Linked DNA regions of Homo sapiens: regions 2, 3 and 4 are each linked to region 1. Evidence: promoter capture Hi-C in 16 types of primary human blood cells and fetal thymus (Javierre and others, 2016). All regions are on one chromosome and are shown on one strand. Each heading gives the region's core, a stretch centred on a gene start or on the middle of the fragment in contact. The rest is flanking DNA. Distances are from core to core; before and after follow the strand shown. Region 1 holds the start of PPP4R3B (protein phosphatase 4 regulatory subunit 3B). Region 2 overlaps SPTBN1 (spectrin beta, non-erythrocytic 1). Region 3 overlaps SPTBN1 (spectrin beta, non-erythrocytic 1). Region 4 overlaps SPTBN1 (spectrin beta, non-erythrocytic 1).

The links. Contacts are between HindIII fragments. The CHiCAGO score rates a contact against its expected background, and 5 or more counts as called.
Region 2: a fragment that was not itself captured here is called in contact with the fragment with the promoter of PPP4R3B in region 1 in 4 of 17 cell types (neutrophils, total CD8 T cells, activated CD4 T cells and 1 more); the score reaches 7.4 in neutrophils.
Region 3: a fragment that was not itself captured here is called in contact with the fragment with the promoter of PPP4R3B in region 1 in 1 of 17 cell types (total CD8 T cells); the score reaches 5.6 in total CD8 T cells.
Region 4: a fragment that was not itself captured here is called in contact with the fragment with the promoter of PPP4R3B in region 1 in 1 of 17 cell types (total CD4 T cells); the score reaches 5.3 in total CD4 T cells.

Annotation. Positions count from the first base shown.
Region 1 is chr2:55,613,251-55,621,025 of GRCh38, reverse strand. It overlaps PPP4R3B (protein phosphatase 4 regulatory subunit 3B), which reads left to right and starts at 3,404. Exons shown (of 17, transcript NM_001122964.3): 1 at 3,404-3,882; 2 at 5,520-5,575. The coding sequence starts at 3,741. PPP4R3B-DT (PPP4R3B divergent transcript) reads right to left here and starts at 3,096. Exons shown (of 3, transcript NR_186624.1): 1 at 2,644-3,096. RefSeq lists a silencer at 539-588 and enhancers at 3,034-3,083, 3,104-3,503, 2,597-3,521, 3,522-4,448. The HindIII fragment of the contact is 10,945 bases long and covers 1-5,654 here.
Region 2 is chr2:54,557,371-54,565,145 of GRCh38, reverse strand. The region is part of intron 2 of SPTBN1 (spectrin beta, non-erythrocytic 1); the gene reads right to left. SPTBN1-AS1 (SPTBN1 antisense RNA 1) reads left to right here and starts at 6,441. Exons shown (of 4, transcript NR_185881.1): 1 at 6,441-7,478. RefSeq lists an enhancer at 4,733-4,902 and a silencer at 6,904-7,043. The HindIII fragment of the contact is 1,251 bases long and covers 4,516-5,766 here.
Region 3 is chr2:54,573,539-54,581,313 of GRCh38, reverse strand. All of the region lies in intron 2 of SPTBN1 (spectrin beta, non-erythrocytic 1), which reads right to left. Among named protein-coding and RNA genes, the nearest start is that of SPTBN1-AS1, 19 kb to the right of the region's middle. RefSeq lists enhancers at 1,025-1,074, 2,074-2,123 and silencers at 6,527-6,586, 6,657-6,816. The HindIII fragment of the contact is 3,791 bases long and covers 2,163-5,953 here.
Region 4 is chr2:54,606,125-54,613,899 of GRCh38, reverse strand. It overlaps SPTBN1 (spectrin beta, non-erythrocytic 1), which reads right to left. Exons shown (of 36, transcript NM_003128.3): 4 at 1,566-1,739. Among named protein-coding and RNA genes, the nearest start is that of SPTBN1-AS1, 51 kb to the right of the region's middle. The HindIII fragment of the contact is 4,624 bases long and covers 2,166-6,789 here.

The sequences.
Region 1 (7,775 bases), core at 2,155-4,654:
ACCAACATGGTGAAACCCCATCTCTACTAAAAATACAAAAATTAGCTGGGCGTGGTGGCGGACACCTATAATCCCAGCTACTCAGGAGGATGAGGCAGGAGAATCGTTAGAATCCGGGAGACGGAGGTTGCAGTGAGCCGAGATGACACCTCTGCACTCCAGCCTGGACTGTGTATGGAAAAAAAGAAAGAAAAAAAAAGTGGGGGACAGGGGTTCAGATATGGTGGCTCACACTTGTAATCCCAGCACTTTGGGAGGTCAAAGCAGGCAGATCCCTTAAGCTCAGGAGTGTGAGACCAGCCTGGGCACCAACATGTAGAGACCCTGTCTCCACAAAAAATAAAAAGGAAGGAAAAGAATAGTATTCCATTACAGTCATGTGTCCCTTAACAATGGGGATGCTTTCTGAAAAATGCATCATCAGGTGATTTTTTGTTGTGTGAACATCATAGAGTGTACCTAAACAAACCTAGATGGTAGCCTACTACAGAGGTCCCCAACCTTTTTGACACCAGGGACTGGTTTTGTGGAAGACAATTTTTCCATGGAAAGGGGGAGTTGGATTCTCATAAGGAGTGCACAGGTTAGATCCCTTGCATGTGCAGTTTACAATAGGGTTCTCACTCCTACCAGAATGTAATGCCCCTGCTCATCTGACAGGGGGCAGAGCTCAGGCCGAAATGCTGGCTCCCCTGCCACTCACCTTCTGCTGTGCCGCCCAGTTCCTAACAGGCCCTGGACCACTACTGGACCACTACATACATATCTACATATAATTACCTGTATATGCATAGAATATCTCTGGAATAGGACTAGATACATACTTTGTGGGCCCAGTGCAAAATAAAACCGCAGGGCCCTTGTCCAGAAACTTTCCTGAATTTCAAGTTAGTGACAGCAAAACATTAAACCAAGTGCCTATCTGTACAGGTCACCACCATGAAGCCAGCCCTGCTCTGGCAACATACACAGGAAAATGGAATAGAGGTGATTCCAAGAGGAAAATTCTATGAGTGGCAGGAGACAAAGACTAAAAGAAGACTTAGTTTTCACTATATATCTTTGCCTTTTTTTTTTTTTTTTTTTTTGAGACAGTCTGTCACACTGTCCCCCAGGCTGGAGTGCAGTGGTGCAATCTTGGCTCACTGCAACCTCTGCCTCCCAGGTTGAAGCGATTCTCCTACCTCGGCCTCCCAAGTAGCTGGGATTACAGGCCCCCACCACCACGCCCAGCTGATTTTTGTATTTTTAGCAGAGACAGGGTTTCACCACGTTGGCCTGGCTGGTCTGGATCTCCTGACCTCGGGCAATCTGCCCACCTCGCCCTCCCAAAGTGCTGGGATTACAGGCGTGAGCCACCATGCCCGGCCTCTCTTTTTAATTTCATATGTGTAAAGGCATTACTTATTCAAAACAACAAAAAAGGAAGATTGTGGGCTTATTTGGTTAGCAACTCTTTGAAGTGGAACTTTGATGACTGCCTGAAGCAAAGAACATCTGCTGGGGAAGATGTGGTTATGGGGGGCCCTCAGACTTGGATAAGCACTGAGCCCTGTGCTTTGGAGGGGTCTGAAATCCATGGAATCATGGGACTGTAGCCACCTGCAGCCCACTTTCCCTTTTCCAGACCATGCTGTGGGCACTCTAGTATTCCCTATCCCAAACGCCAAGCCTGACTCCAGGGTCTGCACAATCCTCTTCCCAAGTTCAGTCTTCCTGGGGAGTAACCAAAGGGTGAGGCTTGGACAGAAGGCTGGAGAGTCTAACATCAGGCTCAAAAATTGTGTGAAGCATTCTCTGACTCTTCCAAGACAGAAATGTTATTTTCTCTGAGGTCAAAATACATTTTGTCCACTTTCATCACATCAATTAATTGGCTCTATTGTTATGTATTATATTATGATGATTTTCTTCAAGTACATTTTCTGAGGTCTCTAGATTAAAAAAAAAAACTATGAATCCAGATTTTGAAATTATTTCTATCAGCATGTGTTCTGTACACTGACCCACGTTGTAGTGTACTGCTGAAGGGTGTCCACACTTAAGCGATCTGGTCAAAACATAAGCACGTTTTAACAAGACCATTGATTAGTTATGACTACAACTCCCAAGATGCACTGCAGGGTCAGTGTGCGCGTCTCGCCTAGTTTTCACCGATCAGGCTAATGAGCTGCACAGAAGTGGCAGCTGAACAAGCTGAGAGACTGTATTAAAGAACGAATATAGCGGGGATGGGGAGCAGGCGTCTACGGTCCCAGCTACTCGGGAGGCTGAGGTGAGAGGATCGCTTGAGCCCTCAAGGCGGAGGCTACAGTGAGTCGAGATAGCGCCATTGCACTCTAGCCTGGGAAGCAGAGAGAGACTATCAAAAACAACAAAACGAATAAAGGGATTCTACCAAGAGTGAGCTGGACTGAAATAAACGACACGCTACTACGACCCAGCGCGTGACTATATCCACCGCACAATGTGCGATAATAGCCTCAATGCAGAGAGAATTCCTCCTTTCCTTATTCAGTGCAAGAGAGCCCTATAGAGAACGCAGGAAATGCCCGCGAGAAACTGAGAAGTATCAAAACAATCACAGATATGTTAGGAAAGTAGCTCCCCGCCACTTCCCTAAACTTATCATAGCAGACTTACTTTCCAAGGTTACAAACACAAGAAGAGCACTGTATTTTCATGAAGCGGAAAATGTGCTTTACAATCGCCAGCTACTAAGAGCCTTAACGGTGAAGCGCTCTGCAAGAAACAGGAAATCGTCAACACACTTTCTGCATGAATTGCCTGGAGAGTTGTGTCCATAGACAATTCCTGGTTAGATGCTTAATTGTAGCAGACTCCATAACGGGGTTTAGCGGGTTTCCATTCGGCAGAAAGGGCTCCACGTTCTTTTTCACAGAAAGGTTTAAACTTATTTTTCCTCCTCAGGCGGACGAAGTGAGCGTCGTTCCGTGAAGGTATGAAACCCTTTTCCTTCCTTTCTGTCCCTGGTTACTCCGGTTCAAGGCTACGTACTTCCCCGGTTTGCTTTGTTTTTTCCTCAGAGCTAAGTTCCTAGGAACGTCACATACTGGTGCCATCCAACAACATGACGACGTGCGGAACCGAAGTCCCCTTCCACCTAGCGGCCTCTCGCGGCGCAGGCGTGGACGGGGAGATCGCGAGAACCTCCCGCCCAATTGCGACCCCGCGCCAAGAGGCGGGGCCGAAAGAGGAGGAAGTCGGGCCGAAAGAGGAGGAAGTCTCGCCGAAGTACTCCCGCCCCAGTCGGTACCCCTCCTCGCGAGAGCGCCGAGCATTCCGGCCTGGGAAGCGCGTGCAGAAGCGGAGGTGCTGCTCATGGGACTTGTCGGCCGCCGTAGCCCCTGCTAGGACAGCCCGTGCGAGCCTGCTGGAGGAGGAAGAGAAAGGCAGAGAGAGTCGGGTTACAAGATGGCGGATCTGTAGTAGTTACCGCGGCGGCGGGAGAGCAAGCGAGCCCTGGGGGGCAAAGAGACGGGAGAGTGGGTGTATGCGCGGGTGAAGTGAGAGGTAACGGGGCCTCCGGGCGGAGAGGCCTCAGTGGCTCTTGTCACCCCTTCTCGCGGCTGAACCTTTGGAGCCATGGTGAATTCGGGCCTCTCCGAAGCCGCCGCCGCCGCCACCGCCACTACTGCCTTTACCGTCTCCTAAGAGTGAGGAGCGCGGACGAGGTAAGCGAGGAGGCGGCGGCTAGAGCGGTGGAGACAGCAGCCACCATGTCGGATACGCGGCGGCGAGTGAAGGTCTATACCCTGAACGAAGACCGGCAATGGGACGACCGAGGCACCGGGCACGTCTCCTCCACTTACGTGGAGGAGCTCAAGGGGATGTCGCTGCTGGTTCGGGCAGAGTCCGACGGTAAGGTTATCGGAACTGTAGAATAGGGGATAGTGCCTCTGGTTGGGGCACAGCTTGGGTTTAGGGCCCTGGGCCCGTTACCGTTGCTACTCCTTCGGGACAGCGCGTTGGTTCTGAACTGGCTCTTGTGTACGGCAAAAACAAAGTACTGTACTTTTGACTGGACTTATCCTCGGAGACCGAGACTCTCTGTCCTTCTCCCATCTCTCTTAAGGATTGGACTCCTTCCTTTCCAGTCCCTCCTCTTTTGAAGAGGGGAGAGTGTGAGAGAGAAGGGAGGAAGTAGTGAGAGACTAGGTACTGATGTCGCCCTAGGAGCTGACACCTTCCTCCCCCTTTATTTACTTATCCATTATACGTCTAGTACAAACGGTTTAGGGAAACTTTTCTTTCCGAGTGTTTTTAAAAAAAAAAAATTGTACCAACGGGCCCCAGGTGCCACAGTCGACAGGTGCTGGGGAAAACCGAAAGGCACGTTTTCCTGGCTGTATTGCTGACTGTTGCCACGATACATGGACACACAAGCACATACATCTGTAGTCTGCATTTCTTCGGGCTGCCTTTGTAGAAGGCGCTATGAGAAAGTGAATGCCTTACAATCTAAGCAAGTTGGGACACCAAAGCAGGTTGTAAACTGCTGTGTTCTTTGGTTTATTGTAGTCATGTGAAGTATTTTAAATTACAAAATGTAGAGCCGTAATTAAAATGCCTTTTATAGTATAATCTGGACTTGATTTGAACAACTGATATAGGCAGTTAGAAAAATAATCTTAGGTTTAGTCTTGACATATTTTGTATTCTTGCTTGTTCCCTTTTATTTTAAATAGTCATCACTTCTACAGAAGGTGTTCTTTTGTTCTTAATGAGGAAAGGATAAATGCAGCACTGTAATTTCTATACTAAGTATTTAATCCCTGTCATGATGTTTTTGTTTTGTAATTTGCATTATTTGTTAAACTGGGAATGCAATAAAACAACTTTTGTTAAAACGAATGGCTTGAAGTGGTCATTTAGACCTTAAAATTTTTATTTCAATAAAATTTTAATAGTCATCTAGTCTCCTCATTCCTTGGTTTGATTGTTGGTTTTAGATTAATTTTTCCTTTAAGGGTGTATGGGAATAGGGTGAAATATTTTAGATTAAATGTGAAGCCTAGATTTGGAGAGAAAATGTGAATTCGAATACATTTTATTAAGATGTCCAACTCGGTAAAAAGACTTGAAAAGTTTGCGGGGGCGGGGGGCGGGGTTTAAATGTGTATTTTTTTTTTTTTTTTTTTTTTTTTGGAGACAGAGTCTTGCTCTGTTGCCAGGCTGGAGTTCAATGGCGCGATCTGGGCTACTGCAACCTCTGCCTCCTCTCCCTCTCTCTCAAGCGATTCTCCTGCCCCACCCTCCCGTGTACCTGGGACTACAGGCATGCGCCACCACGCCCAGCTAATTTTTGTATTTTTAGTAGAGACGGTTTCACCATGTTGGCTGGAATGGTCTGGATCTCTTGACCTCGTGATCTGCCCGCCTCCCAAAGTGCTAGGATTACAGACGTGAGCCACTGCGCCCGGCTTTAATGTGTATTCTAATTTTTATTCAGGGTTTTATCATTTGAGACTTATGATGTATTATTTTTTATCTTTCAGGATCACTACTCTTGGAATCAAAGATAAATCCAAATACTGCATATCAGAAACAACAGGCAAGTAGTTGTTTATCTTTAATTTGAAAGACTTCATCTGTGATCAAGGAAGTATTAATCTGACAAAGGTGGGAAAGCTTTCCTGACAAGAAAAAAACATGTTTGGTAAACAAAGATCATGTGTATTTCTCTTGCAGGTTAAAAGTTTCAGACTGAAAAAAAGTTTTTGTACTGGTGATAATTATCATTTTTGGATTGAGCCACTGTCGGTTTATTCTAAGATGTATTTATTAGTATTATTTAACTGTAGTTAGCCAAGTCTCTTCTATACCTTGTACATGAAACCTTTTATTCTGAGTCACGTTTAAAGGAAATGACATAGAACAAAATTCAAAGGGATACTCTTAAAGCAAGGAAAGCCTGTTTGTGGTGTGAAATTAAATCCTTTGACTCAAGTAAAGGTAGAGGTTTTGAAGTAGAAGCATTAAATCCTGCTCTTTAATTGTTGTGTATTTTTAATATAGTAATCAATGGATACTTTATAAAAATGTACATTACCAAGTATGTAACATCTTCTGTTAATATTGTCTTATTTGGGAAAGAAAATGTGTATTGTATTTTAGCACGCCTGATTAATCTGAAAATGGTAGCAGTGATTCAATCTTTTTTATTCTGTGAATGTTTTTGTTTTTATTATGAAATATATTAAAATTGAAAAGTACAGAGAATAATCGGTGTCTACTGTAACACCACCAGATTTAACAATGTTAATGTTACGCCATATTTGTTTCAAATATTTTTGTAATATTGAACATTATGGATAGAGTTAAAGCTTGTTTGTATCCATCCCGTTGTTTACATTCTCCATCCCCTACATAGGTAACCACTATTCTGAAGTTGATGTGTATTCTTTGTGTACATGCTTTTATACCTTTTCTGCATATGTATGTATCCATAAATAATATGTAGTCTGTTGTGTGTTTTTAAACTTTACACAGTGGATGTCATACTCTTACATGTATTCTGCAGCTTGCATTTTTCACACATTCATTTTGAATATTCGTTCATGTTAACAATGTAGATCTAGTTTTCTTTTTAAACTCTGTATAGTATTCTTATGTATGACATACACTTGTTGTTATACATTTGAATTATTTCCAGGTATTCTTTTTTGTGTGTGGTATGTAAAGTCACGATGGCAGAGATTTTTGAAGGAAGATAAATTATTTTAGGATTACATTTACAGCGTCAGTGCCCACTTCAAGGTTTATGAAAATTTGGATGCCCAGAAACAAGTACTTCGTAGTTGGAGGAATAAAATTCTGTCTGTTGTGCAGCTTATTATTACAAAGTCTTACTGTTAGAACAATTATGTATATAACACATTCTTAATCAGTTATTTGAAATACTTTAAAATTTTCAATATTCAATTCATAGCTTTTTTCTCTGTTTAGAAAATATTGTGTGTCTTTTTTGATGGAGAAGCAAATTAAACATTTGTCCTGAATTGAAAACCTGAAGATGTTTCCTATACCTTAGACATTGTAAGGTAGACATTTAAGTAAATTTAATTTCTCAGTCAGCCAGGCAGCTCTTAATCTCTGTCTTTATACCGAGTTTTTACCAGATGATCACTTTTAGTTTGTTTTTGTTTGCTTGCTTCTTTGTGGGGAAAGAAATACTAATTTTTTTTTTTTTTTTACCATATTTCCCTTATCTGCATGAATATAATTATCAGGAACTTTGTTCTTAAATGTAACTAAGTCATAAACAGTTCCCTACAAATTTAGGTTTAATAATGGATTCTTCTCAGATTGTATATAAGATCTTTTAGCTGTTGTTACTTTGGAAACATCACATTATGGAGTAGGTTTGTATTTAAAATAGTCACCCAACATAAGTTAAAAATACATAGTGATTCTGTGAATACTTTAGAATCATTAGGATATGTAGGTAATTTCATGTATAATGTTGCTCTACTAGAAAATTAGTTCTAGATAATTAGCATTTTTGTATACACTTAGTATAAAGTATTGGAAAAAATGCATTATTTAAAAAAATTACACCATTTGGAAATGTTTTCTGTAATCACATTTAAATAATATACTATTTGGGGTTTTGTAATAGTTTATTTTTTCGTTGGGCTTTTTTTTTTTGGCAACATAACATTCAGGTGTATAAGAGAACTCTGGTAATGAGAAGAATATGGAAACACTGAAGAAGAGTGAAAAACTTGTGTGAATGATGTTACCTGTTTATT
Region 2 (7,775 bases), core at 3,892-6,391, 1.1 Mb after region 1:
AGTAGCTGGAAACACTTATTGGTAGGACCCACCCTAGAATTTCTTATTCAGTAGGTGAGAAGTGGAGATCTGAGATTTTACATTTCTAGCCAATTCCCAGATGATGCTGATGCTGACCTGGGGACCTCATTTTGAGAACCTCAATTTGGGAACCACAGCAATAAGGGAGTCTATAACACTGACTTCATTAATTTTGCTCTTTAGCAAATATTTAGCGGCTTGTATGTGTAAGACAGACTATTCAGACTTTGGTCTTCAGGCTCCCAGACTTCACGAAATACAGGGAAAACAAAAAGACAAAGACTGGAACTGTAACAAAAGGCAGTAATGAAAAATCACAGGTGAATGATCAAGCGCTGAAACTTCAAATCTTAAAAGGAAGGGAGTCCAAGCAGGGATGTTGACCTCCCCAACCTCCTGGAATGCCTAGAATAAGTGGCATCTGAACTGAACCTCAAAAGACTGATCCTGACACATGAAATGATTCCCTGCAGAAGAAACCAAGAGGGCAGGGTGTCAAGGGTGCCAAAATGCAGGGCAGGTTTAAGGAATCACAACTTCTGTGGGGTACAGGTGTGGCAGCAGCTGCAGCTGGGACTGGAGTCAAATCCCAGCAAAGATGAATCCCAGACATGTTTGCACGGAGCACTCTTCTCAGGGCCCTGCTGTGGGGAGACTGGGATAACTGCATGGGGACACTTTAGGAAGCCATGAAAAGAGACTAAAGCAGACGAAGCAGCAGTGAGGCTGTGCAGACCCCTTTTTCCAAGAATGAGGAGTGAGGAGAGGTGATGACATGGAACCATCATCCAGAAAGCTTTCTCAGCAGCCAGGGAGATTTTAGGCTGACTCTCCTAAGAAAAGTGCTATCTTTTCCTCAAAAGGAGTTATCTATCACCTTCCTCTTCTATATAACTAGCCTCCAAGAATCCTTTTAATGTTCTTCCTAGTAAAATATTAGATTTAAGAAAAAGTTGGTATTCCCTTGACTGTCAATATTCTTAATGCAACAAAAACCGAGAGCAGCCCATGTCCAGAAATCTGGGCAGCTCCCTTAACACATTAATCTTCCATGCCAGCAGTATGTATTCAAGTTATTTGGGCGCCATGATCCACATCTAACCCACACTTTGTGGTACTACGGGAAGAGCATCAAATTTGGAGTCAGAAAACCTGAATTCTGGAAAGCTAGCCTCATACAGATGGATAATAATCCAACGATCTATTTCTTTATCTACAAAAAGTTCGAGAATAGCTACCCTTGCCGGGTGTGGTCAGCACTTGGGGAGGCCAAGGCAGGCAGATCACAAGGTCAGGAGTTCGAGACCAGCCTGGCCAATATGGCGAAACCCCATCTCTACTAAAAATGCAAAAATTAGCCGGGCGTGGTGGCAGGTGGCTGTAATCCCAGCTACTCAGGAGACTGAGGCAGGAGAATCGCTTGAACCCGGAAGGCAGAGGTTGCAGTGAGCCGAGATCGCGCCACTGCACTCCAGCCTGAGCGACAGGGTGAGACCCCGTCTCAAAAAAAAAAAAAAAAAAAAAAAAAAAAGAATAAATTTTCTTCATGATTCAGAGGTATAAAATCAGCACTTCACTTTCTAAGAGTTAAGAAATTTAAAAAATTAAGAAATTCAACAAGACAACTCTCAATACGTAATAAACTTGGTAGTAATGCATTTCATGACCTGAAATTCTTTAATCTCTATGTCCCAAGGAAGACAGAGCACTTCATACCTCTCCTGGTGCAAACGCACTGAGCCAGAATAGCTAGAGAATGCACCTTCTCCAGAAAGATCAGATGCGGAGTGTCAGCATCTGGCTGCAAAGCAGACAGAAAAACTTCATTTTGATGCTTTTTAACTAGATCCTGTCTACATTACAACTTCACAGCCAGAGCCAATAGAATCAGTTCTCCAGGGGCAGGTTGGCAGGAGAGGGAACCAGGTTAGGGTGGGCATTTCACACTGTCATTCTTTCATTTAAAAGAAAATATATATATAAATATGAACATCTAGAAGTCTGAAAGGAGAAAGTTACAGAACACCGTGCAGCCTAAACTCAACAATGCCTGTGAACTTGGATGAGTTATTTGCCTCTATCTTATCACCTCTAAAACTTCACAGGTATGTTATAAAGACCAGACAAAATTCCATATAGAAAGCTCTGACTGGTACATGGTAAGCACTCAACAAAATCGTTTTTCCCAGTAACCCTGACAAGAAAGAAGAAACTTTATGGAATAATTGGAATGCAGGCATAGTATTTAAAAATGGTAAGCATTTCTAGGCCGGGTGCAGTGGCTCACACCTGTGATCCCAGCATTTTGGGAGGCCGAGGCAGACCAATCACTTGAGCTCATGAGTTCAAGACCAGTTTGGGCAACATGGTGAAACCCTGTCTCTACAAAACACACACACACACACACACACACACACACACACACACAAAGCAGGGTTTGGTGGCAAGTGCCTGTAGTCCCAGCTACTGGGGAGACTGAGGTGGGAGAATCACTTGAGCCTGGGAGGCAGAGGTTGCAGTGAGCCAAGATCATCACACCACTGCACTCCAGCCTGAGCAACAGAAGCAGACCTTGCCTCAAAAAAAAAAAAGAAAAAGAAAAGAAAAGTAAGCATTTCTATAGATGAAATGGAAGAGTAGGCATTTGAGGCAAAATGTAGAAGATAAGCGTGAAACCCAGGGATGGGTTTTATAAAAAGCTGTAGGCCTGCCTACCAGATTTGAATGGAATATATTAGAATAAGAAGTAAGTGGAGTGGGGCCATTTTACGGAGAATCTTTGAAGGCCAAGCTAGACTCTGGAACTTCATTTACACAATGGCACAAGCAACTGTTTCTGAGGGGGAAAGTGGCATGATGAGTGTTCTCTCATGAGGAGTTAAGCTGGCTGATGTGAAGTGGAGAGATGGTTATCATGAACCTGCACCTCTGTTACTACACAGTTCTCTAAATATGGGAGGTTGGGTTTTGCTGTATTTCAACATTCCTCTTTTATTTAACAGAGAAAAAAACATCAAATACAACTTTATACGATACATGAACTGATTCTGAGGAAAGTGATAACTTAATTTTGCAGGTGAAAATCTGAAAAAGAAAAAGAGGAAGGGGTGGGTGTGTGTGTGTTGGGTGTTGGGTGTTGGTGGTGAATGCTACAGCCATCAGAGGTTGAAGGGCTTGTCTTCTTATGCCAGGAGGCTTCGTGTGATAAAGCCATCACTCTTGTATCTCAATGAGGTTTTTTTTTTAATCACACTTATTTACTGACCCACAAATCTCTACAAACTATAAATCTCTACAAACCATAAATCTCTATAAACTATATATTTATGACTATCCTTATTTTTATTTTAAACTATATATAACTATATTTATATATAAATATATAACTCGATTTATATTTATATATAACTATATTTAAACTATAAATTTATAATATCTCTATAAATTTATAAACTATAAATCGCTATAAACCATTTTATCTAAATAGACCAGACTCATTTTAAAATTATATTCTCCTTAGCCAGAACTCCAAATCTCATTCTATGGCACACCTCCTGAAATTTTTAGGACCCAGTGTGGAAAGTAACTTGAAACCAGCCAAAATGCAGAAACAACTCCAGAAAAATCATAGCACTATCAGGCACAGACAATACATAAATAAGTTCATATCAGAGGCATTAAACCCAGTACAGGACTGGCAAGGTAGCTCACATCTGTGATCCCAACACTTTGGGAAGTGAAGGCGGGAGGATCATTTGAGGCCAGGAGTTCAACACCAGCCTGAGCAACATGGTGAGACTCTGTCTCTACAAAAAATTTAAAAATTAGCCAGACATGGTATAGTCCCAGCTACTTGGGAGGCTGAGGTGGGAGGATGGCTTGAGCCAGGACTTCAAGGCTGCTGTTGAGTCGTGATTGTGCCACTGCACTAGAGCCTGGGCAACAGCGTGAGACTCTGTCTCTTAAAACGAAAACAAAAAACCCAATACAGTTTCAGAGGAGCATTTTGCCAATATTCAGAGATTATGTGCTAGGAAAGATTATACTCAGAAGAGTAAAAAAAGGCACCCTTGCAGGAATGTACAAAATTAAATCAGCAGATAGAAATTATATGTTATCAAAAATATGTGATAATCAGAACTACAAATACCAAACAAAACACAAAACCAGGGATGGGAATTAAAGAAAGGTTTTGTGTGTGTGTGTTTAATCAAAATTCTCCTAGGATTGTTTAAAATGCAATCGGTTCATTTGTTCTGAAGGATGCTGACAAATGTGTGTAATTCTCCTGAGGTCCACCATACTTGAAAGTTAATTCACCCTTTCTCAATTCCTCAACATGGGTGGTTTTCTGCTACAGAAATACCAACACTAAACTTGTGCAACTCCTAAACCACAATATTTAAAAATAAGAAAGTCACTGGGGCTAAATTAGGAGACAAGGGTCACACTAAAAAAAATTATTTTTAAAGCTACCACACAAAACACGAAGCTTACCCCTTTCGAAGGGATTTCCTTGAGAAACAGCGTATGAGGTAAAATATCAGGGGCACATGATTTTTTTTAAATTTAAACTTTACGTTGTCCAGAGAGGACAGTTAAGACATTTCCTGTGTGTAGGCTCCACCCTTCTCGGCGAGCAGTTTTAAAACCTTCCTCAGCCCTTTCGGAATAACAGCCTTTTGTTATGGGTGGGCCTAGGGGTGCACTCCTCCCTCACACCTTCTATTTTCTCCCAGTTTTGCTTTTTTTCTGAGACTTCCAGGCTAGGCTGGCGGTGGAGTGGGCTGACGATCCCGGTGGGTGCTTTCCCCCAGGCGGGATGACACAATGAAGCTGGGAGTCCGGGCCAGGGGAAGAGGAGGAGCACGCAGTGGATTCTCCGACCCGAAAACCGTGAGGCCCCTAACAAACCTAGATAATGAACGCCCCCCCCCACCCCAACTCCTCTATTTACTACTTGCAAGCGCCCCCAGCTTAAGTTTTCAAAAAAGCAAATTTGACTGCCGAAGAGCTCAAGAGAAATGAACCAAAGAGACACAGAACCGTTCCCCAGAGCGAAGGGAGCTTCCTCTGAGCTAACTGCCAGAGGAATGTGGCACAGCCCAGCAAATGTTTAAAATCACGTCCTGTTCTGCCTCGTTTTCCAGAGAAGTGTCATTACTGTCAACTATTTCACAAGACAAATAAACCAATGAATGAAAGACATCCTCCCCCCTCTTCCCAATGAAAAACATTCTAGGGCTGAGCGGCTTCCTTCCTTCCTCCTCCTCACAGGAACCACATTTGCAGCACTGAGGAGGTTAAAATAAGAAACACACAGTCCTCGAATACTACTTTTTTACAGTGCTAGAGCCATTCCCAGCCTACTACTGACTCCAGGGGCTTCCAAACGGAAGGAGTTCTGTTTTCAGTTAGGAACCTTTTTTCATGTATAAGCTCTGAGACACTGCTGGCCAGGGCCTGCTGGCTGGGCAGGGACAGCTGAGGGGTGCAGGGGCCGCAGGGAAAACAGCACACTGGTGCACACACAGGCTTCTGCTCTCCCTAAAAATATGTTCAGTAAAATATTGGACTCATTCAATTGTCTGAGCCTTAAAAAGACTCCAAGAAACCTGTAATTGATCCAACTAATCCAACCCATAGGGTTGAAATGACAATAACCGGCTTTCATTAGAAATTATATAGCCCACTAAATAGATGGGAAGGCTCTTCCCAACACATCAGAAAAATTAAAATTAAGCTTCTGAATAAAAAACTGTAATTTACCAAAGGCTTAGGAACAAAAAGACCCCTCCCTCCTCCCCTTTGCTATTGTTCTACAGGACTGGGTCTGAGCACGGCACTTTACACCTTTAAAGCTTCCCAGAGGTAAGAGGCTGGGGGCTGGGAGCCAGAGGCGACCCGGAATCAAATACCTGCATACTAATAAGTCTATGAGCACTGATCTACTAGGAGGTAAAGTTAGCTAAAAGTAAAGAAAATGTGTGTGCAGCAGTTATCTGACAACCTAGAAAGCCAAAAAGGTGCTGGAGAGACAGGGACTCCAAATGGTAGCTCTTCTGGAGTGGAGTATGAGCAACTGCCTTCCCTAAGTCGTGAATGGGGTGCCCGCAGCCAACCACAGGGTCTGGGGCCGAGCTGTGAAGCCGCCCGTCTTCATTAGGGTCACAAATAAAGCCTCCAAGAACCCCCGTTGGCACCCAGGACAGGCCCGGCCTTTGGGAGGGGGCTTACCTTGCAGCTGCTTGAATCTGCCTTCCAGCTGGTTGTAGTTGTAAGGCACCTGCCCCGTGTACGCCGGCGACAGCGGCCCGGAGATACTAGACGTCCTCTGCAATTCCATTATGCCCGGCGTAACGCCCCGGAGGACTGCGCCCTGGAAATCTCGCTCCAGCCCCCTCCCACTCCCATCCAACACGCAGCAGCCTCCGCAGCGCTCGGCTCCTTAGGCGAGCCCCATTCCGGTCTGCAAGTCCAGCAGGGTGATCTGATGGGAAGTTGGCTGCAAGAGAGTCCACCTTAGCTCCGCGAGGAGTTACCACACAGGCATCTAATTTCTTGCTTTCCCTTCTTCCGTGGCCCTTGCCTGGAAGCTCGAAATAAATTACTGAGGAGGAGGGAGAAGCAGAGAGGAGGCGCAGGTTCTACTTCAGAACTTTTAAATATGGCCAATCCTAAGCATGCCACGGTTGCCGAGCCCGGGAGCTCGCGGGCGCAGCGCGCACACCTCCTCCCAGCTGCCCGCGGCGGCCGCCGGTTTGTAATTTTATCAGGAGCCACTCGCCGTGTGCTGGGCGGTGATGTCACCTGATTAGCATAACAGCATTGTATTAGAAATGCAGGCTATACCACGAGGAGGGGCGCGGGGGAGCCTAGCCGGCCCGCGACCCCCTACCGGTCCCGCACGGTCCGCGGTCGCCCCAGCCGCCCGGCAGCCGCCGACCCCCGGCCGGGCCCTGGACTCGCCGCGGTAGTGCCTTCCCAAACAGAGCTGCTGGAATTACAATCTTTTGTTGAGCCTCATGTAACGGAAAAGTCTCCGATTACTATCACTTGAAAAGGCTAGCGCGCCCACGGGACGGCCTGGAGAGTGAAGAGCCCCAAGGGTCCCGGGCCCGCGCGGCTCATTCACTCTCTAGCGTCTGCTGAGGTAACGCGGCCCGCACCTGGGCGCGCGCGACTGCCCCAGTGCGCTGGCGCCAACCACGCGGCGGCGGCCCGGCGAGCCACCGGGAAGAAGTCAGACAAAGTCACTCTCAGGGCGCTGTGCAGCGCCACAGCCAGGGGAGGTGTAAGTTCGGGCTCAGTGAAGAATCTCGGCTGACTTACGCTGCCATCAGGGGATATGAAGGCGGTGGTTTCCTGGAATAACACGGGCCTATGATAGGAATTCGACGCAAGGAAGATTTATGGGAGCACCGATTTGCAAGGCATTGTGGGAAAAAGGTACACAGGTAAACACCGCCGAGATCCCTGACCTGGAGTTGTTTATGATCCGGAGGGGAGATGAGGGAACCGAAACTACCCTCAAATTCCTACTCTGATTTGTAAAACAAGGCCTCTAAACTTGTGGTTCTCCAAAATTTTAAATCTCTCCTTCCCAGCTTCTTCTCCCACCAATCTCAACCAAAAATGAAATCTTCCACATAGAAAAGAGAATGATCAAAATGTATTCTTGGGAAATTGACTCTAGATCTCCCCCCTCTCTCTCCACCCTCCTGTCCCCCCTTTTTCCTCACTACCTAAACAGG
Region 3 (7,775 bases), core at 2,809-5,308, 1.0 Mb after region 1:
ATGAAAAGGGTTTTTACTAATGAGAAGTACTTGATGATTATGCACAACCCCTTTGTTGTCCATTCTACACTTGTATTATCATTAAATTTGTTATGTATTAGCTTTCAATATAGCCATTCCACAATGCACGTGTATTTCAAAACATGTTGTATGAGATTATATATAAAAATATATAAAGTGTGTGTGTATATATTTATATATTTTTTCTTTTTTTTTAAGACTAAGTCTTGCTCTTTTGCCCAGGCTGGAGTGCAGTGGCGTGATCGTGGCTCACTGCAACCTCCACCACCCGGACTCAAGCGACTCTCGTGCCTCAGCCACCCAAGTAGCTGGGATTACACGTGTGTGCCACTATGCATGGCTAATTTTTGTATTTTTAGTAGAGACAGGGTTTCAACATGTTGCCCAGGCTGGTTTCAAACTCCTGACCTCAAGTGATCAGTCCGCCTCAGCCTCCCAAAATGCTGGAATTACAGGGATGAGCTAGTGCACCCGGCCTATAATTTTTATTTATAATTTTTATTAAAAAATAAAGTTTTTACAAATTTTTGGTTATGTGTGTCTCTCATATTGGCTCCCCCAGGCCTGTACTTTTGGAAGTATACAGTAGAAACCCTAACCCTTTCAGAATTAACTAGTTACCAGCAGTAAGTTTCCCATTCTATCAATAAACAATGCAAGAGAGAAGATTTTGGAGATTTTTTTTTTTTTTTGGTTAAAGTGTGAGAATATGAATACACTTGGATTATAATCCATCCTCCAACACACACACAAATAAGCAGCTAATGGCAATACTAGTGGTCTTCCCAATTCACAAGACCTGTGCTTCAAATTGTTTTCCTGATAATGTGGAGAAATGTGCTCTTTATGTATTCTCAAGAAACAGGATGTGAAAAGCTGGTATGGGTATACAAGATAAAAATGCCTACCCAGAGTGGGCAGAAGCCTCTAAATATTACTGGTTTGCTAAAAGTTTCAGATGCTTTTTAGTTCTACATATGTTAGTTCTACCTTTAACCTCTCTACCACTCAACGAACCATCAAGAAACAAAATCTACTCCCTATGTAACAGTAAAGTCACCCCAGACTAACCTTCAAAAGGGGTTTTACTTTAAAGAAACAGCTTCACAGCCACTGCTGTCATAGAGAATATTCTCAGGTTCCGTGTGGCCGGAAGCTTGAATTTTTTCAGTGCTGGCTTCCTTCTCCAGTGGGGCCAGAGGCTGTCAGAGCCAGCCCGGAAATCTCTCTCATATATGGCTTTAACGTAAATGAAAATATTCCCCTGTTAATTATTTACATAAAGAAGGTCATACAGGTCTGTCCTAGCAACACCAGAGAGCCGTTCTCACCAGCAGCTTTTACCCTCAGAAAGGAGAGAAGAAACACCCATTCAAGTTCAGCACAGAGGTTTGGGTTTATAACCTGTTTCCAAAGTCAATACAGTTAACTGCTGTGGGCTATTTGCTTTCAGAGTTTTAGGATCTCTCTCTCTCACTATACTTTCTGGCAAAGCCTGACAAACAATAGAGTCATTTTAGTCTTAATGCATTGGCTAAAACTGGTTCCTACATTCTCATCAATTCTCCTAAGACTTACATTTTACCTAAATCCAAAGGTCAACAGGAGTTCTCGGGACTTACAAAGGTACTTTTCAGAACTCCATGCAGCAATATATCTTCCCAGTTCAAAAGCAGGGCCAAACAGCAATGCTGGGCTCCCTTAATATGCCAATGTGCTTCAGCTCAGTGAGGATCTGGTCTGTCCACAGTTCAGGTATTAAGAGAGCTATATAGCACGTGCGCTAATGCTACCAATACAGAGACGAACTACCCCTCATTGGGGGCCACGGTCCCTATGGGTGAGTGTGAAAGATGGGGAGTTTAGGTGTTTTCAGAAACTTCTGGTTTGTGGTACTGTATGATTTCCCCAAATAATGGTCACACATGAGCAGAGAATCAGTCCCAAAAAATGGTAGTTGATAACCTGGCACTGTATTCGATCTCTGGGTGACATTCTCATACCTGAGGGATGCCTCAGGTCAAACGGAAGCTGTTATACTTCATTCTATGTGCCGTCAAAGCTCCTTCTATGAGCTAAGAACACTGCAACTGAAAGTAAAGGTAAAAGAGGTCATGAGCTAGAGAAACTCCTAGGAAGCTTTATTCTGAAAAGAACAAAATGGGAATATATAATATATATTAGGTTGGTGCAGAAGTAATTGTAGTTTTGTCATTACTTTTAATTGCAAAAGCCACAATTACTTTTGCACCAGCCTAATACATTCATACCAGAGGGCTTCTCTATAGCACCCTCAAAAGAAAATTTCTTGGGAAAAATGGTGACATGGCACCTTTCAGTCTAGCAGTGTTAGGCATTCCTAAGAAAGATACTCAGATTTCTCCTGGACAGAGAGGGCATAGAAGAGAACAAACCCAGCATTCACCAACCCAACAATCCTATTAGGAATCTTATGATTCTGGACTCTTGAAGTGGCAGAAGTAGCATCATACACACACACATCAGAATTATCATCACACACACACACACACACACACACACACCCCATCAGAAGACACTTGCCTAGGCCAAATTAAATCATTTCTGGAAGTGGGCAGGGTATAAATAATAAATATAAATAACTTGCCTCACTGATGCCAAATATAGATCATAATGAATGGGAACAAAATCAAGTTTGTGGTTTTAGGATACAAGTAAGGCTGAACACGTAAGGATGAACTCTTAGAAACAGTTTTTATATCTGCTATGGGGAAACTCAAAAGGTGGCCTGAAAACACAATGCAAATCGCAGCTGGAAGTCTTCACTTATACTTGGCAGCAGCAGCAGCAGCAGCAGCTAACCGGAAACAGGGATTATCCATTTTATTCACACAGGGACATCACAGAACAAAAGGCTAACACTTAGCCCAAAAACACCAACAAACACTCAACCAGTCGAAAATATTTAAAGTCAAGAAAAATCAGCAATCTCCAATAATCTGAACTTCAGATGTGGTTTCCTGGCCTAACTCCATGTTTCTGGGTAATGCCATCACCTTTGAACATTGCTCCAAGGTTATTCTCTGTGTAGCAAATGCTCAACGATGCAGCAGTGAACACTGTACTTTTAAATCCAAGATTCTACTTCAGTGCCAGTACAGTTTATTCCAGGTTCTCACGGGTACATTACAAATAATTTCATATACTGGGAAAATACAGATCAAGAGAGTCTGTACTGTCAGCTGAGTCCTTTATAGTCTGGAATCTCCAAAGTACCATCAAAGAAAAGGGAATAAAGTCCTCCAAGATAAGGCAAGGCTTGAATTTTACATGGCATTCACCATGCTGCTCCTTGTTACCATCACCAATGAAGAGTGAGAGTCTCAGCAAATCCTTTAAGATTGAAAAAAGGATCAGGAATTTCTACCTCTCAACAACTGCTTTCACTAAATCAAGGTTGCCCAGGGTCCTAACAAAATCCTAATGTGGGATCTACAAAAGCACCAGGTGAAAAATGCTCAACAGGCAGCACAGCAAGATGGTTAAAAATTGAGTCCCAAAGCGCACTGCGTGGGTTGGAATCCTGGCTCCATTTACTAGTTAAGTGTCCTTGGGCACAGCTTCCTTTGTGCCTCAGTTTCCTCATCTTCAAAATGGAAATAACACATCACACAAGGACGCTATGAGGAGCATATGAATCAATACTGCAAAGTACTTAGGACAATGCCTGCACAAGGGGAGTATCAAGAAGTTTTGGTGGCTATTACCATTATCAGTACCACCACCAATACAGGGCTAGACTTTAGGTAGGGACCTACTTTCCTTCTCTCTTTGCATGAGAATCCATATACCTTTTCTTTTGCTTTCCCTCTCCTTTGTAGCTTGTTAGGTTTCCCACAGGACTGATTTTGTGAGCTCAAAGCATGAGAAGCCAAAAATGCTTAATGTTTTGGCAGTGGGCATCTACCCAGAAGAGCCTTGGGGGAGCACATTCGGTAAAATGAAAGTGACCAGAGTAAACGGCCATGCATTTATTTGCAGGGGCCTTCAAATCTGTATCAGACAATCTACAACCCTAACAGGTTAGAGAACTGAAATGCAAGTCACTTGTCCAAGGTCATTTAACCAACATCAGCTGCTAAGCAGCACCTGATTCCCGGGACCTGTGCCAAGATTAGCTGGCTGTTGGCTAACAAAAAGGAGGCAAAACCCCCAACTAATAATAAGCATTAACAAATGAAATGGAAGGGGAAAAAAAACTTGCATGATGTCCCAAGTAGAATTCTAGCCATTCCCCAACATCCTCCATGGTTTCATGACTCCCTCTGTACACCCCTACCCCCAAGCACCCATCATCTCATAATCTAATCCAGGTCATATTTAAAAACTTGCAATCAATGTCAATTCCTCCAAAATGCTTCCCCCACATCCCAGGACCAAGGAATGATATTTGCATGTTTGGGATCACTTACCTAGTATTCCCTTTCAGAATGTAATTTGAGACCGTGGCTGTCCCTTACACACCTGTGTTTCCAGTGTGCTCAGCACTGTAAGCTGCTCACCTTGACACCCACTTGCTGGCTGAATATTGATTGAACAGGTGGATGGATTTGATGGCTCCCTCAGTGATCTTCAAGCTAAAAATGGGTTCTAAAAAGTCATCCTGCCTTCTTCCACGGCACTTATTCTTGGCTAATTAAGAGGTACATGCTACTCCATTCTCACAGCCAGGCAGCTGTGGCGCATCAACTAGAGCGTATAAGCAACGGCCTTCCAGGATTTGTCAGTTGAGTTTTGAGTACAAGTTCTAGAAAGTACTACTTCTTCAAAGTATAGAGTAAAAAAAAAATTGAAGTAACAGAGCCAACAGCTGTTTTCCTGGACCTACACATACCTGACATCAACGTTCCAGCTTTAAGTTATTAATTAGGCCAAAGCAATAGCAGAAAGAAGAGCTGAAGGCCGGGCGCGGTGGCTCACACCTGTAATCCCAACACTTTGGGAGGCCGAGGTGGGTGGATCACCTGAGGTTAGGAGTTTAAGACTAGCCTGGCCAACATGGTAAAACCCTGTCTCTACTAAAATACAAACATTAGCCGGGAGTGGTGGCAGGCACCCGTAATCCCAGCTACTGGGGAGGCTGAGGCAGGAGAAACGCTTGAACCCAGGAGGCAGAGGTTGCAGTGAGCCGAGATCGCACCATTGCACTCCAGCCTGGGAGACACAGCCAGACTGTCTCTCAAAAAAAAAAAAAAAAAGCTGGATCTGAGTGACAAAAGGAAAAAAACACAGACCATTACCATCATCCACCTCTCTCCCTATCCCTGCTACCATAACCTAAACTGTACCAAAGTCTGGGCCCTGCTTTAACCACTCATCCAACCATGTTTCTCGTACTACAGGTTAATTCCTGTCTCAGGAGAAAAGACCAGGTTCCCATGACTGCCTAGGCAGAGGCATGTTGAGACCCAGCCTCTCAAATGTCTGTACACATTTCTCCTCTCCTTTTGGTTGAGAAGTTTGTGGACAGATTCAAAGGAGTTCCCGATACATCGAAACTGAGCCTTCACGCCACTGAGTCACTGCTTAATTGCATCATAACAGATGTTCAGCTGCAGGTATTTCATCCAGCAGCTAAAAATCCAGAGCCTTTGCAATTGCTACCAGTGGGTCTACATCCACGTCTCTGTGTACAAAAGAATCCTGATATGTCAACGCTCAATATCACCTGAATTTAAGCTATGGCTCAAGTTAAATGCCCTTAGGCAATTTTACCTTAGTTACTTTTACCAAATACCGTATCCACAAGTGGGTGGACGTCAGTTTTGTCCTTCGAGATATGCAGATGCATTACTCATCCCTCCAATGTTACGCTCTTGCAACATCAATGATAAGCAAATTAGCAGACTGTTATCTTTTTAATGGAAGAATTTACTCATCAATAGCAAAAGCTTTATCAGAAATTGACATTATTGAATCCTCTGGAGTTGCAGAAAAGAAAATAAAAAGAAATTGATATTGGGAAAACCTGACTGGTTTCTTTCAGCTGTGTATTGTATTGCTAGGTTAGGTGTGACACTTAACACCTGTGAATGTGGCTGAATCTCCAAGAATGATCAAATACACAACGCTCTGGATTTAAAACAAAACAAAAAAAACCTCAAAATCTACCCATGTGCTGATGGATGTATACACTATGCCTTCCTACGTGTCTCCACCTATTTAGACGAAGCACACGCCTTGAATTCACAGAAATGTTGAAAACGGCCCCCTCTTGCTGCAGAAGTTCACCATCACCCATTTTCTTACTTGCTGGCTAAATGAGGCTGCCACCTCAAGTCATCTTTCTGGTCCTCAGGTTCCTCAATCCACAAAGCAGTTATGATACCACCTAGCACACAGGGTGACTGAAGGGATAAATAATATGTTCATGAAGGTACCTGGTTTATGCCTGGTTCATGCTGGAAAGCCCCCACACACTTTTTCAAAAAGTCATGTTTGATGCAGGAGAAAGAAGTCAGTGGTTTAACTAACTACATCACAGGCATCAGTAGACACATGAGCAAAGTGGTGGAAGGGTGTGACCTGCAATTCCAAACCAGACTGCACTGATCGAGCTCTCATGGGATCACTGATTCCCCACGTGCCTGACATGAGCATGACCCATTCTAAACACAGGCCTGCACCCTGTGACTCAAGTGCTGCAGCTTATCAGCAACTGATGGGCTTTCTGACCCTGGGTGAGAAGACCTGACCTCCAAAGGCAGGAGGAAGGAAACCACATGATAAAAATCATCACTCTGAGGGGAGGATGCTTTCTGCGCAGCTAGGGCTAAGGAAGTTGTTTCAAAACAGACTCAAGAAACGTGTAGGCTGCTGCTAGGAGACTTGGGTCCAACTGCTCCCTCCAGATCCTGCCACACCTAAATGATCCCAAGAAGATAACTATCTCGGAGAAGCAGTGTGAGGTAATGGTTTAATGCTAGGGCGTGGTCAACAGCCAGGTGCAAAGGCCGGCTCCGCCACACTAATAACTGTATGGCATTCTCTCCAAGCCTTGCTTTCCTCATCTGTAAACAGAGATAACGCCTGACCCTATCTCTAGCATTCTTCTGATTGTGAAATTAGATAATGTATGTCATAAATAGCACAGTCTGGTACATAAGTGTCCAATAAATGTTGGCTATTGTTACTGGAAAGGTGTCTGTTTCCTTCATTAGACCAGTTGAGGGGACCTGAGAACAAAGACAACCCCAACATTTGTGTCCCCCCACAAAAATTTCTTAGATTTAATTATGAGTTTGTATTTTCCATACGGGGTTCATGCACATTATTCTAACTGATTCTCACAGCAACCCCAGAGGAGAAGGGAGGGCTGGTGTTCTGTTTTGCAGGTGTACAAAGCACCCCCCTCCCATAAATACATCCATTCAAATCCCATTAGAAAAACAGGATCCGTTTTCCTGTCTCTTGACTTGTTTGTGAGCTTCCTGAGGGCAGAGATAGAAATTACACCCCTGTGGCCCTAGTGCCTGAGCAAAGAGCCGCAGGCAGAGGCCCTCCATAAGGCTGAATATTAAAAAGGGGTTGAGTCATACTAAGAATCATAATTATTCTAATGACCATGTCTCCTAGTAGTCCAAAAGGAGTTCTGTTTCTAACGCAGAAAACCTTAGCAAATGAGTTACACTGTGAATTCCCGCTGAGGGAGGAGGAACAAAGACAGAGGATCCCAAATCAACTGCTGAATCACCGAGTCAGGGGTCCCCAACCCC
Region 4 (7,775 bases), core at 3,228-5,727, 1.0 Mb after region 1:
CAGGCCAAAGCTAACAGAAATACAACATTTTACTCCATAAAACTGGGGTGAAGCTAGAGGAGTGTACTGCTAATAATTTCACCTCTGTTGCCATAAGACACAAGAGCAGTAATTAGTGGATTCAATGGCTACTCCATTTTCAAATCATTCAGGAACTAAATAACAGAAATGTAAGAGTTCTATCTGGGGAAAAATGTCCTTGATTGCTGTAATTAACTCCTTTAATGATGTTGTACCATCTTCAACAGTGGTTCTCTCTTCAGACCTACTTAATCAGAACTACTAGGGCTGGGCCCTGGGAACCTGAATTATTAAAAGGGTTTCCCAAAGGCATCAGATGATCAGCCAGCTTGGGAACCAGCCAGGCAGGAAGATATTTCTTCCTGTAACTCATTCTAGTCCCCTACCCCTTCTTCCCACATATATAATCACGACACTAACTGAAGCCCAATCGTAGGGCAAGTGAGAAGGAAAAGGGACTGTTGACAGGCTGATTTCAGAGTTTCAATAAGAAAACAAAGCAAGTTATAATTTGATTTTTCGTTTTTCCTTTTTGTGTGAGGTTTTTGTTTACCCAGAAAAATCAAAACAGATCTTTATTAAAGGGGCAGAACAGGAAGGAATGGCAAGAGAACACAGTCACTGAGGAGACAGGACTGTTAGAATATTTGTTCGCAGAGAAACCTGACACTATGGTACAAAGTTGTTCCTGCCTTTCCAATTTTAATTGGAACGCATGAGTACGAAGCATGAGCCTGGAGAAAGAACCAATAATCAGGCTCGTGGTGGTGCACAGTCCCAAAAGGCTGAGCGCTCTCTCTTAAGGGGTCAGAGGCACCCACTATAGCCCTGGCTGGCTGTGTCATCAGAGGCAAGGTTTCAAATTTCTGTGGGTCCCCGATTTCTTCATAAAGTGAAAGAAGTGGACAAAATGACCTTGAGAGTACCTTCCGGCTTAAAATACTTCTATACTTAGAGCCTTCCTCCTCAAGTATAACAAAACCCATAAAGCATCATCAATTCAAAGAAACACAAGAGTTTTGTACTTTCCTCCTGCAAACTGCTTCCTCACATCCAAAGAGAATGAGAAGGTGAAAATGGAGCCCACACACATGCCATAACCCTCAACAGCTTTGCCAAAAAATGTTCTGTAACACATGTCATAGTTGAGTGAAGTTGAGGCAGTCTAAGCTAATAACCTAGCATTGGCCACGTCCTTATACCTTTGCTCCTGAGAGCCAAGCAGCAGAGACCAGATGTTTAGAGCAGGTGCCAGCAAAGTGGCGGGCTGGGATGCAGCCTAGAAGCCCCTGGGCCGCTGAGATGTGTCTGACAGGAAAGCTAAGATTACCAGGGCTAGTACAATTGCAGGAGGATGTAGTAGCTTCCACGTGCCTACGAGGCAGCATTCAATTCTGAGGGCTGGATATGACACACATGACTCTGAGACATGCTTTCAACCTGGTCTTCCCGATCCCTCTGATACAGGGAGGCCAGCTCTATAACAATGCTCATACCTGAGAGGTCGGCCTAAGTTCTGAGCAACCCTGGGCAGAGACCCTTACCTGGAAGCGCAGGATGATGGTCCAGATGAGGCCAAGGGTCAGCCGGTGGTTTCCATCCACGATGTCATGGGACCCCATGTTCTCAAGATGGACTCTCTGCTCCTTCAGGAACTGAAGGGCCTTGTCCACATTCTCTAAGCAGTGGATGCGCATTCGTCCCTTGGTGGGTTTAGGCTAGAAACAGGAGAGCAGAGGTAGAGACACATCACCCAACAGAGTAGAGATGAACCCCGAGTTACTGCCTAGTCACATGTGCCCATTCATGCAATGCTCTCCCGCTCAGAGCAGAACATTAACAAACACATGTACTCATTAAGTCCAAGGACGGTATTTACCTAACGGCCACAGAAAAAAAGTTTACTTAAGGGGATGATAACTGATTCCTCTTTAGAGAATAGTTGTGGAGCTATATAGTTTACAAATGAGCATTTGTTTAAGTTCAGGGAAGAGAGAATCCAATTTTCATGGAGAATTTCAGCGCTACTGCTGCCATCCATACAATTTTTTTTTTTTGCAGGTGCATGACAAAACACCTGTGAGGATTTTCTGATTACTTGGAATGTAAAATTAGGTTTGCCACCTGCTGGCAACCCTTAAGCTTGGCTCAAAATGAAAACAGGGAACACAACCATCAAATCAGAAGAATTTCCAAGTGGTGGTTGTGTGTGGAGGGATGGGGTGAAGGTTAAGTAAAGAAGTATAACTTACTGAAAAGAAGGGGAAAAGGGAAAAAAATGAGTGTAGTGCAATTTAAATACCCCAAATGTTTCTTCCCTCTACCCAGTTTTATCAAAACGTAAAAGAGGCCCTTGGAAGGTGAACATTTTAAATAAAACAAACAAACAAAAAATATATATATAGAGAGAGAGTAGATAATGCATATGTGTATATATACATCTACTATAAAATATACTATTATAGAAGTATATATACGTCTCCTGTAAAAGCACACACACATCTACTATAAAAATATAGTAAATATACACAGTTGACCTTTAGTTGGGCCTGAACTATTCAAATGCACTTATACATGGATATTTTTCAATAAATAAACTGGAAAACTTTTTAGAGATTGGTGACAATTTGAAAAGATTCAGATGAATGGCCTAGCCTAGAAATACCAGAAAAATTAAGAAAAAGGTATGTCATGAATGCATAAAATATATATAGATGTTAGTCTATTTTATAATTTACTACCGCAAAATATATACAAATCTGTCATAAAATTAAAAATTATCAAAACTCATACACACAAACACAGATTGTAATGGCACCATTTGAGCAGTATTAAATCTTGGTATGTACTGTACTACTATAGTAATTTCAGAGCCATCTCTAACTCCTACTGTGATGAGCTCAAGTATTGTTGAGTGCCTACTTAAAATGCCTATGATGCTAATCATCTCCACGTGGTCTCTCTAGTAAATTGGGTATCACAGTAAAAAGCCATCTCTCACAGTTCTTGTGTATTTTTCACAGTGTCTAGTGCAATACTGTAAACCTTGACTAATATCATGAGACCCAAAGTGCCACTAGTGATGCTGGAAGTACTCCCAAGAAGCAGAGAGAAGTCATGACATTACAAGAAAAGGATGAACTGCTTGCTATGTATTGTAGATTGAGGTCTACAGTTGTGGTGGCCCACCATTTGAAGACTAAAAAAAGAAAAGGAAATTTGTGAAGCCATCCCTGAAGCTACACCAGCAGATGCAAAGACCTTGCACTTTTTTGTGAAATATCTTTTTATCTCATATTGAAAATGCAGCGTTTGGCTGGGTGCAGCAGCTCATGCCTGTAATCCCAGCACTTTGGGAGGCTGAGGCGGGCAGACTGCTTGTGCCCAGGAGTTTGAGACCAGCCTGGACAACATGGCAAAAACCCGTCTCTACAAAATAAATAAATAAATAATGAATTAATTAAAAATGCATCTTTTATGTGAGTGCAGGATTGCCATAAGAGAGGCATACCTAAGGACTAATATGATTTGAGAAAAAATGAAGTCATCATATGACAATTTAAAGGCATAGGAAGGTGAAGGATCTAAGGCTGGAGAATGTAACACCAGCAAAGGATGGCATGACTATTAATTTTTAATTGGGTAGCCCTCAGAACCAGGAAAGGTTCACAGAGCTCCCAGTCTGATAATTTCGGAAAGAGGTTTGGCTTAAAAAATGTCAAGGAATTGGGAGAAGCAGCTTTTGCTGACCAAGAGGCAGCAGATGAGTTCCCAGGCACCATTAAGAAAATCAATGAAGGAAAAGTGTATCTTGCCTCAACAAGTTTTTAATGCAGACGAAAGTGCCCTGTTCACAAAAGCCCAGTAAGAGAAAGAGAGGTGAGCACCAGGACTTAAGGCATAAAGGGATAGGCTAACTCTACTGTTCTGTGCAAATGCAGCTGGGTTTATAATCAGGACTGCCCTTATTCATAAGGCTGCTAACCTTTGAGCCTTGAAGGGAAAAAATAAATACCAGCTGCCAGTCTTCTGGTTGTACAAAAAGAAGGCCTGGACAATGACAACCGGTTTTCTGAATTGGTTCTACTGATGTTTTGGTTCCTGAAGTCTCAAAGTACCTTGCCAGTAAGAGGCTGCGTTTTAAAGTTCTTTTGGTATTGGATAATGCCCCCACCCAGAACCCCATGAGTTCAACACTGAAGGCACTGACATGGTCTACTGGCCCCTAAACACAACATCCCTAATTCAGCCTCTAGATCAAGGGGTCATAAGGACTTGTAACGCTCATTACTACACAAAACTCTATGGAAAGATTTGTTGATGCTATGGAATAGAATCCCCAACAGAGAGAACATCAGGAAAATCTGGGAGGACTACACCACTGAAGATGCCATCATTGTTACAGAAAAAGCTGTGAAAGCCATCGAGCCTGAAACAATACATTCCTGCTGAAGAAAATGATGTCCAGATGTTACACAGGACTTCACAGAATTTATGACAGAGCCAATGAAGGAAATTATGAAAGAGGTTGTGGATATGGCAAAAAGGTAGAGGGGTGAAGGTTTTCATGATACGGATCTTGGAGAAATTCAAGAGCTATCAGACACCACATCAGAAGAATTAACGGAAGACGACTTGATGAAAATGAGTGTCTCCAAAAAGATGACAAATGATGCGGAAGAGGATGTAAAAGCAGTACCAGAAAACAAATTGAATTTGTTCCAAGGGTTCCAATTATTCAAGACTGCTTGTGTTATTTCCATAAAGTTACACCAAGTGTCCCTGCCTCTTCTGCCTCCCCTTCTACCTCCTCCACTTCTACTACACCAAGATGGCAAGACCAATCCCCCCACCTTCCTCCTCAGCCTACTCAACGTGAAGACAAGGATGAAGACATTTATGATGATCCACTTCCACTTAATGAATCTGCAAATATATTTTCTCTTCCTTTTCTAACATTTTCTTTTCCCTAGCTTACTTTAAGACTACAGTAATGTAATACACATAACATGCAAAATATGTTAATTGACTGTTTATATTATTGATAAGACAACAGTAGGCTATTAAAAGTTTTGGGGGAATCAAATGCATAGGAAGATTTTCAGCGGCATGGGGTTGGTGCCCCTAAACCCCCTGCTTTGTTCAAGGATCCACTGTGTGTGTGCATGCGCGCACTCGTGCGCGCATGCACACACACGCACACAAAATGGGTTTCTATTATCTGTTGTACCAACACCAAGCTCATGCCCTCGCCCATCTGGCTCCATCCTTCTCTCCTTCCTATTTCCCATCACTCCCCCTCTAGTAGAGGCTGCACCTGGAGCTGATGTCACCATCTCATAAAGATGCCAGGAGGATGCACACATCCACATGTAGAAGAACGCACTCAGCCTGTGACCCATCATCTTGACTTCCCAATCTCTTCACCTCATCACACCTACCTACCTTCCAAGGCTCAGGCCAAGGCCCATCTTTCCTTCCCGGAGACATTCCCATTTCCAATCATTCTGGTTCTCACAGCTCTTCTTTTCCTCACAACTCTACAACTAACAGGCTGGACCACAGAGCCCAGGAACTCATCATTATAATTTTGCTGTTGTTTCATTTATTGCTCTTATTACTTCCAACTAGACTGTTCGCTTCCTAAGAGCAAGGATGAGGCTTTATACTTCTATATTCTCAGGGGTTTTTGGTCCAGTTCTGAGCACAGAGTTATGTGCACAGTGAACTGAATGCCAGCAGACAGACTGGGCTTGGTGTGTGCTGAGCGGACCTCACAGGGGAAAGGGGGCCAGGCTGCAGCAACCCAGGTACACGCAATTAAGGGCAGCAGCCAGCCCTACCTTAGTATCTTGTCCATTCCCTGCTCTTCCCCTGGGTAGTTAAGATCCTCAGCTATGTGCTGTACGGAAAACGTCTGAAAGGAAGGTTACTTGGGTAACAAGCGGCCATTTTAAGTCTGTCCAGTCTCAGATTATTATTTTTCACTTTCTTTTCTCCTATAAAAAAGGACAAGTAAAAACAGAAGAATGTGGTTGACCTTGAGGAAATAAGATTATGTGCAGAGGCCTACCACAAGTAGAAAAATTTTATTTTCAAATATATTTGTCCCTTGGTATCCACAGGGGATTGATTCCAGGACCCCCAATGATACCAAAATCCATAAATGCTCAAGTCGCTTATATAAAACGGCACAGTATTTGATATAACCTATGCACATCCTCCCATCTACTTTAAAAATTAATTTATTAATTTTTTTTTTGAGACAGAGTCTCGCTCTGTCGCCCAGGCTGGAGTGCAATGGCACGATCTCACCGCAATCTCTGCCTCCTGGGTTCAAGAGATTCTCCTGCCTCAGCCTCCCAAGTAGCGGGGTTATAGGCACCAGTCACCACGCCTGGCTAATTTTTGTATTTTTAGTAGAGATGGCGTTTCACCATGTTGGCCAAGCTGGTCTTGAACTCCTGATCTCAAATGATCCATCCACCTTGGCCTCCCAAAGTGCTGGGATTACAGGCGTGAGCCAGCCCCCCGGCCTCCCATATATTTTAAATCATGGCTATATTATTTGTAACTAATACAATATAAATGGTATGTAAATAGTTGTTATACTGTATTTTTAAAAAATTGTATCACTGTTTATTTCTGTATTGTTATTTTTCATTGTTCTTCCCCTTGAATATTTTCTACCTGCAGTCAGTTAAATCTGCAGATGCAGAACCAGACCATAATAGCAATGGAAAAAGAAATGTCTTTAAACATTAAGCTTTTCACATTAATGTGATATCCTCCTTACCCCAAAAAAAGAAAGAGGTGGATTTTGCCTTTAGAAACTTCAAAATGATTTTAATTCGGTTATGTGGGAAATGCTAGAATTTGCTATTTGTGCAATGCCAGGTTGCATCAAAATCAAGCAATCTAACGAGGTAGGAAAAAATAGATATAAAATACGGGTGGGCTTAATCTAAAATTCTGTAACTCTGATTCTGCAAGTGCTGTTTGAGGTAACACTGGTGCTCTCTCTCCACGGTACACCCGTCAGCCTCCTAAAGCTGGCCCAGACACCATTACGCTCCTATCCGAGAAAGGGATGCCTGTGTAATCGGTGCCGCCCTAGAAGAGGTGGGTGGAGCAGCTCTCCCCGCCAGCAGTCACAGAACTGCATATGGCTCTCATGTGTGCTCTTTAAGTTTTTCCTTTTGTCTCCTGGATCAGCTATCATTTCTCATGCTGAAACGTGACTATTCACAGCAGCCCCTTTTCTTCTCACATCCAGGTGGTTTCTGGATTGAACGAAGCTCCTGGTTCAAAACTGTTCAAATTTGAGGGATGGGGATTAACTGCCTCTAAGAAAGGTGCAGGGGCTTCTGACATTTTTGCTGTTCAGGGGCCTTTTCTTCTCATTTCTTGTCAGTTCGTGCACCTGAGCAGTGAGATAGTGAGTGGTCCAGCTACATGTGCTGTTTCCATCACAAACAAAGTGTCTTCATGATGGGAACTGCAGATCAAGGGGGACAGAAACTTCTAACTGCAGCAGCCATTCTCATAAGTCTCCCTCCAAGAGGGTGGAGGCGACAGTGTGGATGGTATTATGAGAAGTTAAGGAAGAGAATAATGAATAGATGGGGACTGTCGGTACCTTCCCAGGCTCCAACCAGCAGGACATAACCAATGTTCTTTCAGACTTTATCCTGAAAGCTTGATCTCAAATAATCACTTGTCTGACTTACATTCAAATGAATGCGGTAGAAAAA